Linked DNA regions of Homo sapiens: region 1 is linked to region 2. The links are contacts of gene promoters, found by promoter capture Hi-C in blood cells and fetal thymus (Javierre and others, 2016). All regions are on one chromosome and are shown on one strand. The core of a region is centred on a gene start or on the middle of the fragment in contact, and the rest is flanking DNA. Distances in the headings are between cores, read along the strand shown.

Region 1 (7,233 bases), core at 4,653-7,152, 230 kb after region 2:
TGCTAAATGTAAATGTTATGTTCTATTTCACAAGGGAGACCAGTTTGGGTTGGATTGGTGAAGAGGGCTCCAAGAGTGCTTTGCAGAATCAGTATTAAGTATGAAGTCAAGTGGGTAGAACAGTTAAAATTGTCTTGAAATAAGGAATAAGAATTTCAAGACTGGGAGCTGCTAGGGGTAGTACTTGAATGAAGTAGAGTGTGTGCTTTGAAGAATAATGAGGTAAGTAGAGTAAGCCTCTATTGGTCACACAGATTATGTTAAAAGAAAAATAACTCCAATTATACTCCTCTTGGATATATCTTTTACTGTTCTCCATGATAGGTTAAATCTATTACTATTATTTTGAAGTGCTCCCTCCACCATAATTTAAGAATTAAACCTCTATTGAGATCTAGGTTAAGAAAAGACACTCAGAGGGTAAGAACTGGAAGGATTTTACAATCGTCAAACTTTATCACTTAGTGCAAAAAAAAAAAGGATAGAGAAAGAAAGAGTATGGCCATTTTATCTGTAGGCACTAACCCACAATAAGGAAATAAATATGTGGCTAAGAAATGCTTGAGATGGAAGGCACACTGAAGAAATTCAAGGAAGAAGATGAAGTATACCTGAACTACCAAGTCAATAATATTTGTGAGAAATTTGCAGTAGTTATTTTACAATGACGTTTTCTCCATTGAGAGAAAGCTATTTTTCTGAAGTGATGCTTTAACAGAATTCAGGGACCTCTAACCAGCAGAGACCAAGAGATCATTGGCTCTCCTCTAGGGAAACTAGGAATTAGAGAGTGGAACAATTTTAAGATTGATAGAATAAGTATTGAAAGAAATTAATTTAAGACATGATCTTGGTTTTTAAATCTTCTGTGCAAGAGTCTTGTCTTTTAACAGAAATCCTGTCCCTGTCCAATCCCAAGTAAACACACATAACACATCCCATGGGAATGCTGAAAGAACAAAATGAATAAACATGGGCAATGCCTTCACTGGTTTGCCTGCTAATAGGAAAGTAGCAAATATCTTTAATTGTCTCTGGAGAGATATGATTAGAAGTATTACCACTGGGTTCTGTTCTCTCAATTATTATTTTTCTCTGCAGGGAGTGAGTGTCTAGTCAAATGATGGTAGAAAAAGCCTGGCTTACACAACTAATTGTATCATAAAGTTCAGGAGAGCTTTGTATCTGGGCTTCACCTCCCAAGAAGGCCTCATTAGCGAGGAGAATCAATCCCAGTCTATCCATTCTGCCTTTCCTGTCTTTGAGGTTCCTAGCAAGCCCAAGGGTATGTTAGAAGAAAAGACCACAGATTATTGTACTGTAAGTAAATGTGGTGTATTTGCCTTGAGAAAGGGTTTACAGATGGAAATGGGAAAGGGGCAGTGAATGAAATCACTGGCTCCAGATAGTAGCGATGAAATGCCCGTGCTATGTGGTCTCCTTCTGCTTCTAAGTCTGTATTTATAGCTAGGGTCCTGAGGGGACCTCTAGGGGCCACCGTCTATCCCAGGATATGGCCATGTACCTCTGACCTTCTCGGCCCCTCCATCCATATCCCCTCATTACCCTGTGGCAGCTCCTGGCTTTGTCATCACTGTGCCATAGAAGAGGATCAGATAACCATCCCTATAGGGTATGATCTGGCTAAAGGGCTCCAATGATTGTCAGGGGCTATGCGGCTCAGGTGACTCTTTTTTACAAATAATGCTAATTTTAAAAACTGAAGTAGAGTTTGTAAGTGGTTTGCTTACCCAGGGATGTATCCTCCTTGCCCCTCTGCTAACTGCCTAGTCCTGCACATTCTCAGAAGCGTTGTGTCACCAGACAAGATCCCCTTCTCAGTTGTTCTGGATACAGGCACCATTCACTCACAGGGAAAAGCCAGTGCCTGTCAGGGTACAGGTTCTCTTTTTTTTTTCTGATTTTAGCAGAGGAACCATTGAGCACAGAACATGTCTCCTTATGATGACTGGATCCAGACATTCTCCTTAACGATGGTTCTCATATCCCTAATTATATATCTAAAAAACCTAAGTTCTTATGTGAGTTAATGCATTTAATCCTCACAACTATGTTATGAGACAGAATTTATTACCCCATTTTGTAGATTGGGAAACTGAGGCATGAAGAGGCACAGAGAAGTCATAAAGCTAGTATGCAGCAAAGCCAGGATCTGAACCCAGGCTGCAGGGCTCAGGAATCCATGCTTGTTCATTTGTTTTTAACACTAGGCTGCGGCCGGGTGCAGTGGCTCACGCCTGTAATCCCAACACTTTGGGAGGCCAAGGCAGGCAGATCACCTGAGGTCAGGAGTTTGAAACCAGCCTGACCAACACGGAGAAACCCCATCTCTAATAAAAATACAAAATTAGCCAGGCATGGTGGTGCATGCCTGTAATCCCAGCTACTTGGGGAGCTGAGGCAGGAGAATTGCTTGAACCTGGGAGGCGGAGGTTGCGGTGAGCCGAGATCTCACCATTGCACTCCAGCCTGGGCAACAAGAGCGAAACTCCGTCTCAAAAAAAAAAAAAAAAAAAACTAGGCTGCTCCCTAGGACTAAGCTCAGTGTCAAAGTATATTATTGGAGATGGCAAGTTATTTCTGAGTAATTGCAAAGATTTGACAAATCAGTGCTGCCTTACAACCCCACTGCTGGAGGCCCCAGGGCTCCCATTCTAAGACAATTTTCAATAGAAACTTTTCTTTTGTGTCAGTGCTAAACACCCTAAATACGCCCCCCTTTTCTTTCCAAAAAATTAATCCTCTCTCTATCATTGGGATATTTAGCATGGTGGGATTGACCTCTTACTATTACAGCCTGTATTTTTTTTTCTTCAGTAAGGGAGTGTGGTTACTTCAAAGGAGTCTTCCATTTCTTTAAATTGCTTTTTAATTTTAAAAATCAAAATATAGGAACATTTATATTAGGAAATCAAAGCAAAATGTGTGTCTTATATTTAAACTCAAAAACAGCCAAAAAGAAAAGCAAGATAAACGTGAAAGTGTTTGCAACACCATGATGATTGCACTGGATTTCCAATTCCTATGCTTTAATACTTCCCTCAATTTTACGATCTCTTTAATATCATTAGTAACAGCTGACATTTATTAAATTCCTATAATGTACCAGTGCGATGGTATTTCTTCTTCACATCAGTCCTTTTGGTATCTGTGGTCAACATTTTACATTTGACAATAATGAGCCTTAGAATACGTGACTCAAATGCGTCATGTTCATTGCTCAGAATCAAGACTGGAATAGTGTTCTGGCCAAGACTGTTACTCCTGTTGCTTTCATTCTTATTCAGAGACCATATTTTTTTCTGTCACTGCTAAATTTGCTTTGCTCTTTAAGAACAGAAAAATGTATCCATGCAGTTTTTTCCCTTACTCCATCCACTGAAGATTGTTCTGTAATGTGTAACTGGAGTGGATGCCTAAATAAATCTTCCTTTCAGATATCTGATTCTTTATTGAACTTCCACAGGCTTTTCTAAAAGAAAAGTCTGACTACTTGAACTGTGAAATCCAAAATACAAAAGGATGCCAATAAATAAAAGGAAAAAAACTATTTTCCTCTTATACTGTATATTTGTTTACTTAACTTCACAATTGAACAGATGGACAATTTTTGTGTGTAGGTAGCCACCATTATAGACTTTTCTCCTTGTGGCCTCTTGTACACAACTGTTAAAAGCACAGTTGATAACCAGAGTTTTATACAGTTTGGATGTAGTTCACGTCTGATTAAATTTCACTTTCACTAAGAATTCTATTTGTTTCTTTCTTTATTCCTGCTCTTTAGAAATAGTTTATTCTAGGCTGCTGGGGTTTTTTTCCCCGAAATTCCTTACTTTACAAAAATTACAAATAAAACTATAAACCCAGATTTGCTTAATTATGAATTTAGATTAACCAAACAATTGTATTTATTTGGTAATGACTGGATTTTTTTTTTACTCCTAAAGCATCCAAATGCCTGCTACCTAGGTCACTGGGCCTTGGAACAGTAGGAGCACAGATGTGTACACCACAGATGGGAGCCAGGAGGGACTAAAAATATGCAAAATATCCATGTGCTTGGAGGTCTCAGGGATAAAAGGCTTCTCCTTTTCAGCTTGATTCATTGGGACATTAACACAACATTTGCTGTGTCCAAAAATTGACAACTACCATTCTGGCATTAAAATTATATTGTGCAGAAAATTAAACAGTTTCCTATTTCAAATATGTGCTCATTGGAAGTTCTGTACATACATATCTTTTAACTGTATTCTGCTTTCATGAATCTAAAAGTAAATCAATTATTATAAAGTCAAAAGTATATCAGCTAAACTGATGAATTTTTTATGTCAATTTCAGATTGTTAAAAATATAAACAAGGTTACAAAGAATAAGTACAATCTCCTGCTCACTATGGTTCAGGTACATTGTGTTTCTTTCTTTCTCTTCCCAGAACTCACCAAGTGCATCTTGTTCAGAGACTTTGCGTTTACTGTTCCATTACTGTTCTCTGTGTAGAGAATGATCCTCTTTTGGCTCTGGGCAGGGTTGTGGCCTTCATGGTTTAGGTTCCACTCACCTGTCTCCTCTTAAGAGAGACCTTTTCCAACCATCCCATCTAAAGGAGACCCCCCTCAAATCAAGTAGCTTTCTATTATTTTACCTAGATTATTTCCTTCATTGTTCTTTTCATGGCCAGCAATTATCTTTACTTGTTTACTCCTGGTCTTTTACAGTGGTAATGAATCATGCCCTCTCTCTGTTCCAAGTCTGGAAAAAATGAGTTGAATAATACATGAAAGAATCGGATATAATTCAAAAAGGTATTTTATTAATAAAGTCTGTTGAAAAGCATGGTTTATATTTTCAACAAAGTTTCTCTCCAAATTAAAATCACAACCATTAGCTGACACCCCTTCCCCACCTCCAAATGGGACTGAACATGCTCCTGATACCTTAATCCCAAGCAGATAGAAATGCATGCAGGTGAAACAGAGAACAGAGAAAGGTCACCCTCAGTTTCTCTTTCCTGTTTCACAAATCATATAAATTAGGGGAAAGAGAGAGGCAGGTATACTCTAAAACAATTTTATCCAGGGGCATAGAGGTTTCCTTCCCTAAATAGAAATGTGAGGTGTGGAAGAGAAGCACATCACCTTAATATTACTTCTTTATAATCTGCCTCCCTTTCAGAATGTGTTTACATCATCCACAGCTGGGCCTCTAAAGCTTAGAACAGTGGCTGAAACAGATCATGCACTCAAGGATCATTCGTTAAGGGATATACAAAATACAAATATAAGTTACAGAACATTGTTTGCTTATGAAAGTAACAGAGATTGTAATTGGTAATGCCTAGTACTGACTATGTGGCAAAGAGACATGATTCTTACACACTGTGGGAGGGAATTGCAATTGGTCAGATTTTCTAGATGGAAGTTAAAATAGGGATAAAAACCTTAGAAATGTCTGTATATTTAGCATCTGCAATTTCACTTTTAGAATATGTTCTAATAAATAATTATGAATATAGGCAAATCTTAAGTTTAAGAGAAATGTATCTCAATGCCAATAAAAATAAGAAATAAACAAAAATTCAAACAGTAAGAAATTCAGTAAATTGTGACAGAATATTGTGCCCCTTTAAAATAATGTCCATAAAATATAATTTCGATACAGGAAAAGTATTATATTAAGTGAAAAATTGTAATGTTTAAATACTCTGTACAATACCCTATTTTAATATATAAATTTGAGGATCTACGTATTTACTAAAATAAAAGACATCAAAATTGTTTTTTTAAAAGTATCCTGTTGGATTTGAACCTTTAGCCTGATTTGAAAATAAAGATAGTCCTCAGGCTGTTTCTGGAATAAATGTGAAGTGTTAACAGAACAGCACCAGGTCACATGGTTTCTCCACCTGATGAGGCCATCCGTCCTGTTCATGGCCCTTGGTCGCCCCCTGCTGGCTGGATAGACCCAGACCCTCCAGGAAGAGCTCCTTAGAAAGAGCTCACCAGCTGGGGCTGCACCTGATCCCATCCCCATCACATGCTCAGATTCCATCTGAACAGCAACAGGGCTGCTGGCATGATCACAGGTGATGGAGAAGAATACAGTTAGGGGAACCGACAGCAACCCCAGTTGCCATAGCTGGGAATATATTGATGACAAAAGACTCTGTCACACTGGAAAGTAAGATAAGCTCTGAGAGATGTCAACATATTAAGTTATAATCGAGAAAAGAGTCCAATAAAATACAATTACGATACAGCGATCATCTTTAAATGTAACCACTTAATGTAAATTGGTTTTTCTTTTGAATTTCTTATTTAAAAGACCTCAGAAATGTCACCATGCTTAGTTATTTTAAAGATATATACATGTATTCATTGTATGTAGCCAAGAATTATTTCACTCATGCCTAATTTACAATAACAGATGCTGATGAAGAAGTAAGGAAAACTCTCAAAATAAAACTACAAACACCAGATATGGAAAAGAGGCACCTAAAGTTGCTGCTAGGGAGTACTGGCCAGCTTCTGAAAAGGAGCGTCTTATCTCAGAAAGCTTTAAAGAAACTACAAAATTGAAAGCTATTTAAAAGTGATTTCAAATCTGAAATAAGTGGGTAGAAAAGCCTGTGAGGAGGTGAGGGACAGTGAGCAAGCCCATGGCAAACAGAGGGTCCCCGTCCCTGCACATCTCAGACTGAGAAGGAAGCAGGATGAGCAAGTGAAACCACCTCATAATGCAACATTTGTCAAGGTCCTCTCTTCTCAAACTACGTAAAAATCAAGATTTCACACTGAAAGGGAAGCAAGGATACTTGAGTTCTTCAAAATAACACATGTGCGTGTGTATCCCCTTATGTAGGGTATATTATAATAGATCCTGTTTTGTTATATTTTATTAAATGTTATATACATGTACACATACACACACAAATATATATACACATATACATGTATGTATTCTTATTATTCCATTGATACAATGCGATTTTTTCTCATTTTTATGAGCACACTTGGTTAGTTTTGGCAACATATCTGAGAATAAATTCTAGAAAATTCATTCAAAGTTATAATTTCTAAGTGCTCCCTCTGTGCATCTTTGACTGGCCCACAGCTCTGACCTTCCTGTCCTAGATGTCCACAAGAGCATGGAAGGCAACAAGACATGGATCACAGACATCACCTTGCCGCGATTCCAGGTTGGTCCAGCACT
Region 2 (7,076 bases), core at 2,385-4,884:
CAACAATAAACTACAAAATATAACTTTTACAAAAGAAAATGCTTACAATAGCAGTAAAAATATGACGTGCCTAGAAATTTAACAAAAACTGAGCCAAAAGAAAACAATAAAAAATAGTACAAAACATTGAAGATGACTTAAATAGTGTCATATACCATGTTCATTGAGGAAAAGGGCCAATGTCTTAGAAATAATTTCTGCCCAAAATAATTTATAGAGTGCAATGGTTTGAATGTGTCCCTCAAAAAGCAGGTGTTGGAAACTTAATCCCCAATGCAATGGTGTTAAGAGGTGGGCTTAATGAGAGGCCATCAGGTCATGACAGCAGAGTGAATGAATTAATGCCATCACTGTAGGAGTGAGTTCATTATAAAAGGCGGCATTCACCCTCCTTTTACACTCTCTTTCAGCCTTTCTCTGCCTTTATGCCATGGAATGACACAGTAAGAAGGCTCTTTCTTGCCAGATGCCAGCCACTCAATCTTGGACTTCCCAGCCTCCAGAACTGTGAGCTGATAAATTTTTGTTCCTTATACATTACTCAGTCTCAGGTATTCTGCTATGGTAGCACAAAACAGACTAAGACACAGAGTTGATCCATTATCAATCAGAATTCCAACAGGTTTATTTGCTTGTTTGTTTCTTGTTTTGGAGAACTTGATAAGTTTATTTAAATATTTATATGGAAGGTCAAAGGTCCAAGTAAAGCTAAAACACTCTTAAAGAAGAAGAAACAGGTGATAGGACTTTTCCTACCAAATTTCAAGGCTTTTAATAAAACTATAGTGGTTAAAAATTATTTAGTATTGAGGCAGAGTTAGACAAATAGAAAATAAGAATGGGGGCTTAAAACGAATTCATGCTTATATGGAAATCCTGATTCATGCAAATCACTGGTGCTGGGGCAACAGATTATCCATATGGAATAAACAACATAAAAATCAGTTTCCATGTGGATTAAGACTAATTGCCAAAGGCAAAACTATAACACTTTTAGAAAACGATACACTAAAATTAATCTATGATCTTGAGAAAACAATTATCAAACAAGAAAAGCTATAAAAGAAAGTACTACTAACTTGAAATTAAATTCAAAACTTAGATTCATTGATAGAAACAGAGAAAGAAACAGATATAAAGACATAGAGAGAAAGAAAACCTCAAAAGCAAATTGGAAAGATGTCTGTGGCATATATAGCTAACAATTACTGCTTCGTACCCAGATTATATAAAGAAAGCATTCCAATGAGTCAATAAAAAAGGTAAACAAACAATCCAATACAAAAATGAAAGAGACAGGAATCAGAATTTCACAAAGAGAAAGCACTGATCAACATATAAAAAGTCAATCTCATTAGTTATGGAAAATGCTAGTTAAAATCACAGTTAAATGCTATTTCATACCTGCCAGACTGACAAAAAATGTAATTTTACAAGACTAAGCTGTGGCAAGCATGTAGAGCAACAAGAATGCTCATCCACTGCTGGAGGGAGTGCAAACTGGTTTAACACTTTGGAAAGTTTAGAAATGACCCAATAAAATTGAATACACATAAATCTTATAACTCCGCAATTCTACTCCCAGCTATATACTCTAGGGAAGCTCCCACACAAGTGTACTTGAATATTAGAGGACATGGGCAGGCTTTAAAGTGGCCCCGATAATCCCTGCCTCCAGGTGTTCATGTCCTTGTGTCACCCCCTTCCCTTCAGTGTGAGTTGGGCCTAGGGACTCACTTCTAATGAATATAAAATGGCAAAAATAATGGGATGTCGCTTCTGAGGTTACAGAAAGAATCTGACTTCTGTCTTTCTCTTTTTCTCTGTGGGAGCCTTCTCTCTGGGGGGAGTAAGCTGCCATGTTGCAACCATTCTTTATACAGAGGCCCATGTGGCAAAGAACTGATGTGTACAGCCAGGGTCAGTGAGGCCAATCGGCCTGCCAGCAGTCATGTGAGTAAGCCTGGGAGAGGTCCTCGACCCTACGCCTAGCCTTGAGATGACTGAGGCCCAGTCAATACCTTGATTGTTGATACAGCTTGTGAGAGACCCTGAGTCAGAGACTCCCAGCTAAGCCCCTCCTGGATTCCTGATCACAGAAACTGTAAGATAGGAGGTAACAGGACTTGTTTTGTTTGTTCGCTTTGGTTTGAAGCTGCTAGGTGTTGGGGTAATTTGTTACATAGCTTATAGATAAATCATACACCTCCAAAAGTAGAAACAATCCAATGTCCATCAGCAGTAGAATGGATAAATTATGTACATTTACACCTTAAATGACGAAAACGAAAATGGAAGGAAGCATGAAAGATGAATCTATAAAACTTAAGAATACGTACAGGATAATGTCATTAATATAATGTCATTATAATGAGAAAGCCAATACATATGTTTTAGGAATACACACACAAATATGGTAAAACTAAAAAGAAAAGCAAGGGATTCATTAAATTAAGACAAAAATCACGAAAGATGTCACATCTCAGAGAATGGAGGAGAATGGACCATGGGCATCAGTTGGGACTCATGGGCTTCTAAGGTACTGTGACGCCCTATTTCTTGACCCAAGGAGATGGTCAGGCATTCGTTTCATTATTTTTTAGACCATTCTGAGATATTTCATTTACTTTTTATTCAACATTTTAAAACAAAGTATTGAAACCAATTCATCAACAAATCACTAGTTTGGAGGATGAAAGTGATGGACCGATGGTTGGCTGGTCAGCTAGACAGACACATTCTGTCCTTTACGTCTAGTTCGAGCTGTACTTCTTCTAAATTTCCATGATTATCCAATTGGCAAAGATCTTTTTCTCCTGTACTTAAGGCCTTCTTCCGTTGCAGGTTGGGCCAAACTAGCGGCCAGCTCTCGGCTGTTTACCAGGGAACTGTATCACCCAGCACTTGCTGCTTCAGGCCAAATGCATTCCAGACTAACATTCAGCCTGAATCCCCGCGCCGCTCTCACCGCCACCCCTCCCCAGGTCCCTTCCCCCACCACAAACCCACACTGCGCCCGTGGGCGCCTAGAGCACTGGGGTGGATGAGAACTTCCACCTGGGCTTAACGGAGACAAGCTAGCCTAGAAGAATGCAAGCCCCCAGCTGGCGAGATCAAATCGCCTCGAGGGTTCCTGCTAGCTCAGATCTTAATGGCTCCTTGCGGAGCAAAAAACAAATCCTACGAAAATAGGGGGGGTCATCGCCTCCTGCCCAGCAGAGGGCATAACAATGCGGCGAGAATGAAATAGGCACCGAGCTGCAGAGAAAAATCATCAACGGGGTAGAGACGAAGGAAGGGATCCTCGGTGGAACGGCTCTATCACCTGGGGGCGCGCGCAGAGGCCGCAATCCACGCCCGGCCCTCCCCAGACGCTAAACGTCGCACCCCGCCCACCGCTCCCCGCCCCGGACACTAACCCGGGGCCCAGGCCTCGGTCACCGCGGGCCTCTCCTGGTCCAGAGTCTACGCTGAACCCCACTCACTGTTTGCCCCGCTGTTCCCTGCAGCGCGGGTTCGGGGCAGTAGCAACCTGCTAGGAGCGGGAGGCGGTTGTTCCCAGGAGGAAGCAGCTTCTCCGCCCAGGAGGCAAAGGGCAGCGGGCTCGAAACTACAGGACTTGGAAAGTCTTAGGCGGAGACTGCGGGGGTGGGGGGTGGTGAGGAGGGGCCTTCCAGGGAGCTGATTGGTCGACGCGGACGGGGGCGGGACTTGGCCGGCGCCGTCCCTCCCCTAGACCTCAGAGGCCCTGCCCGCAGATGTGGCGCCAAATCCCGGATGCAGGCCTAGGCGCCAGCCCAGGAATATAGGGAGCAAATTGTTAAGAACAAAACAAAACAAAACAAAAGTGAGAATACTTCTGAACAAGTGACGGCCTTGATAAATAGCGAGAGATGTTTATATAAAATAATACAGGACTATTTTTAAGGACGAGTGAAATCTATCGGTTCTAGCTATAGTTTTTAATTAAAAAAGCAAGTTGTATTAAAATGGAGAGTAGGATCTCTCTTTCCCCCTCCCCTCCCCTCCCCTCCCCTCCCCTCCCCTCCCCTCCCCTCCAGGGGGAGGGTCTGCTTCTGCCACCCAGGCTGGAGTGCAGTGGTGCCATCACAGCTCACTGCAGCTTCAACCTCCCAGGCTCAAGCGATCCTTCCACCTCAGAGGCTGGGACCACAAGTGCGCCGCCACCACGCCCAGCTAACTTTTTGATTTTTTGTTAGAGACAGGGTTTTACTTTGTTGCCCAGGCTGGTCTCGAACGCCAGGGCTCAAGTGATCCTCCCGCCTCGGCCTCCCAAAGTGCTGGGATCACAGGCCTGAGCCACTGCATCAGCTTTAGCATTACATTCGTGTATGAAGAAGACATGCTGCATGTGCTTCTATAAGAGGCGGGGCTAACGGTGGAGAAATTGTCTATTGATTCTTACCTTCACAACCACTGAATTGTTTTTTTTTAAACCAATACATTGTTTTTATAAGTTTAATAAAACAGTAAGGCGTTGAGAATGTTACTAACCAATCAACAGATGACAGATATTGGGCATGAGGGAGGAAAGAAAGAAAGGAGTAGCAGGGAAAAAGCCTGGACTTTGAAGCCACCACATCCTCTGCTTACAAGTTGGGCAGTGTATTCATTGCTAAGGCTGCTGTGATAAATTTTCACACATTTAGTGGCTTAAAACAACACAGATTTACTACTATCTTCCAGGACTGTAGGTCCTGGAAGTCCAGCACAGGTCTCACTGGGCTATCATCCAGGTGTAGGCAGGGATGTGTTTCTCTTTGCAGGATCTAGGGACAAATCTATTTTCCTTGCTTTTTCCAGCTTCCAGAGGCTCCCGCATTCCCTGGCTTGCAGCCCTTTCCTTCATCTTCAAAGTCAGCAATCTCATGGCTCCAGCCTCTGCTTCTGTGTCACATCTCCTTCTTTGAGTCTCCTGCTTCCTTCTTTCACTTAGAAGGACCTTGTGATTACATTGTGCCTATCCAGATAATCTAGATAATTTCCCATCTCAAGGTCAGCTAATTAGCAGCCTTCATTCTGTCTGCAACCTTAATTCTCCCTTGCCATGTAGCATTGCGTATCACAAATTCTGGGAATTAGGATCTGGACATCTGTATTAATCCATTTTCACACTGCAGATAAAGACATTCCCCAGACTGGGCAATTTACAAAAGAAAGAGGTTTAATTGGACTCACAGTTTCACGTGGTTGGGGAGGCCTCACAATCATGGCAGAAGGCAAGGAGAAGCAAGTCACATCTTATGTGGATGGCGGCAGGCAAAGAGACAGCTTGTTCAGGGAAACTGCCGTTTTTAAAACCATCGGATCTCCTGCGACCTCTCCACTATCATGAGAACGGTTGGGGAAAGACCCACCCCCATGATTCAATCATCTCCCACCAGATCCCTCCCATAACACGTGGGAATTATGGGAGCTGCAAGATGAGATTTGGGTGGGGGCACATAGCCAAACCATATCAACATCTTTAGGGAGCTATTTTTCTGCCTATCACAGAGGGCTTGTTAACTTCTATCTTAGTGTTTTCATCTGTAACATTGGGGATAATAATTGTCTCTACTTCATGGAATTTTTATGAAGATTAAATGACTTAATACAGATAAAGCTCTTAAAGCAGTGTCTGGCACATGGAAAACCCTATGTGAATGTTCACCATTACCAGAGAATGGACAGATCCTTCCAGACTTCTTCCATGATTTCCTTGGCCCTTGTCTCCTTTGCTCTTCAAATCTCCAAGTTGTGTGTTCTCTCCTCATTTCCCTGCAAATCTAGTCTCCCCTCAAAACTACATAGGCCTAGCCTGAGATTGGAGGGCAGACATGGATGGGACTTTACTTCTAAGAGATTTCTAGAAGTGAATGCACCCAGCTACTAGCACAGAGGCATAGTTTATGACTACTATGGTGAAAGGAAAAACCAGCGTCTGGATGTGTTTGTGCGGTTAAATGGGGTGTCTGGGGGGAAACTGTGGGGGCAGGTGGGTGTTTGGGGATTGTAGACTGAGTGTGTCTGAAAGACCAGGATTGCTTGCAGTTACCTCTCTTTCTCATTCTCTCATTTCTCATTCTCTCTGCCAAGACAGCTGCACTTCTCTCTTGCCAGATCCCTTCTCCCCTCAGAAGCTGACAGTCAACAGGACATAAGCTTGCCCACCCCCACTCCCTCTCCAGGCACACAAGCAAAACCCACCATTTTTAGTTGCTGTTGTTTTTGCTGTGCAATTGGTCATAGAATTTCAGAGCTACAACATCTCATCCACTCTCCTCCTTTATATTAATACAAAAAGGAACACTGAAATGCAAGCAGCAGAAGGGGTTTGCAGCAGGTAGAGGTGGAGCATGACCTTGGAATTCAGATGCCAGCGCTCTTGCAGTACAAAGTCCTTGAGGCTGAGATCACTGGCTAGTCCTCTCGGCGCCTCATGTTTCTGTGTGTGTGTGTGTGTGTGTGTGTGTGTGTGTGTGTGTGTGTGTGTGTTTGTGTGTGTATATGTTTTAGGGTATGGAAGGACACGGAGCCAGTGCAGCAGAGAAAACCCCTTCACCAGCAAGCACACCAAGACTCCTGAACCTGGGCCAGTGCGAGTTCTGGGCCAGCCAAGGCCAGGAGTTTCCATTTCACTTGCCTCCTCCCGCTACTGGCCACCCCTCAGCTCCTCCAACCCCCTCACCCACCACTCCCCCACCCCTTTCCTCTCCTTCTCAGGCTTGCTCTTTGTGGACTGGCTGTGATCCTGGGAGGAAAGGAGGAGAGAGGGGAGCCCTGCCAGACTGCAAGCAGAGTGCTGACAGCCCCTAGGAGTTTAAGATGACCTTTCTTACACGTCATCGCATGTTTTATAGCTCTGAAGAGCAGCAGTCTTTTTGGTGGCTAGTAAGTGCAGTACTAGACAACAAGGCAAGTGGTCTGTTGGTAAGAGTTCCTGCCCACGATGCTCTCTACCTGTAAGGAATTAAATTATCTCGGGGATGAAGGTGAACAATATGTAAGAGAGAAGATGGACAGAAAGACCCAAGGGAAATGAGCAGTAAAAGGGAAGCAGGGTTTAGAATTGA

The links. The method cuts DNA at HindIII sites, captures the fragments that hold promoters and counts their contacts. A CHiCAGO score of 5 or more calls a contact.
Region 1: a contact is called between a fragment that was not itself captured here and the fragment with the promoter of TCAF1 in region 2, in 2 of 17 cell types (naive CD4 T cells and total CD4 T cells). The highest score is 7.0, in naive CD4 T cells.

Annotation. Positions count from the first base shown.
Region 1 is chr7:144,121,945-144,129,177 of GRCh38, forward strand. It overlaps OR2A14 (olfactory receptor family 2 subfamily A member 14), which reads left to right and starts at 1,232. Exons shown (of 2, transcript NM_001001659.3): 1 at 1,232-1,320; 2 at 7,135-7,233. The coding sequence starts at 7,169. The HindIII fragment of the contact is 1,344 bases long and covers 5,231-6,574 here.
Region 2 is chr7:143,898,542-143,905,617 of GRCh38, forward strand. TCAF1 (TRPM8 channel associated factor 1) reads right to left here and starts at 3,635. Exons shown (of 9, transcript NM_014719.3): 1 at 3,420-3,635. It overlaps LOC105375549 (a long non-coding RNA gene), which reads left to right. Exons shown (of 3, transcript XR_007060574.1): 3 at 1-3,412. RefSeq lists enhancers at 2,603-3,140, 2,816-2,865 and a silencer at 3,656-3,795. The HindIII fragment of the contact is 7,751 bases long and covers 1-6,163 here.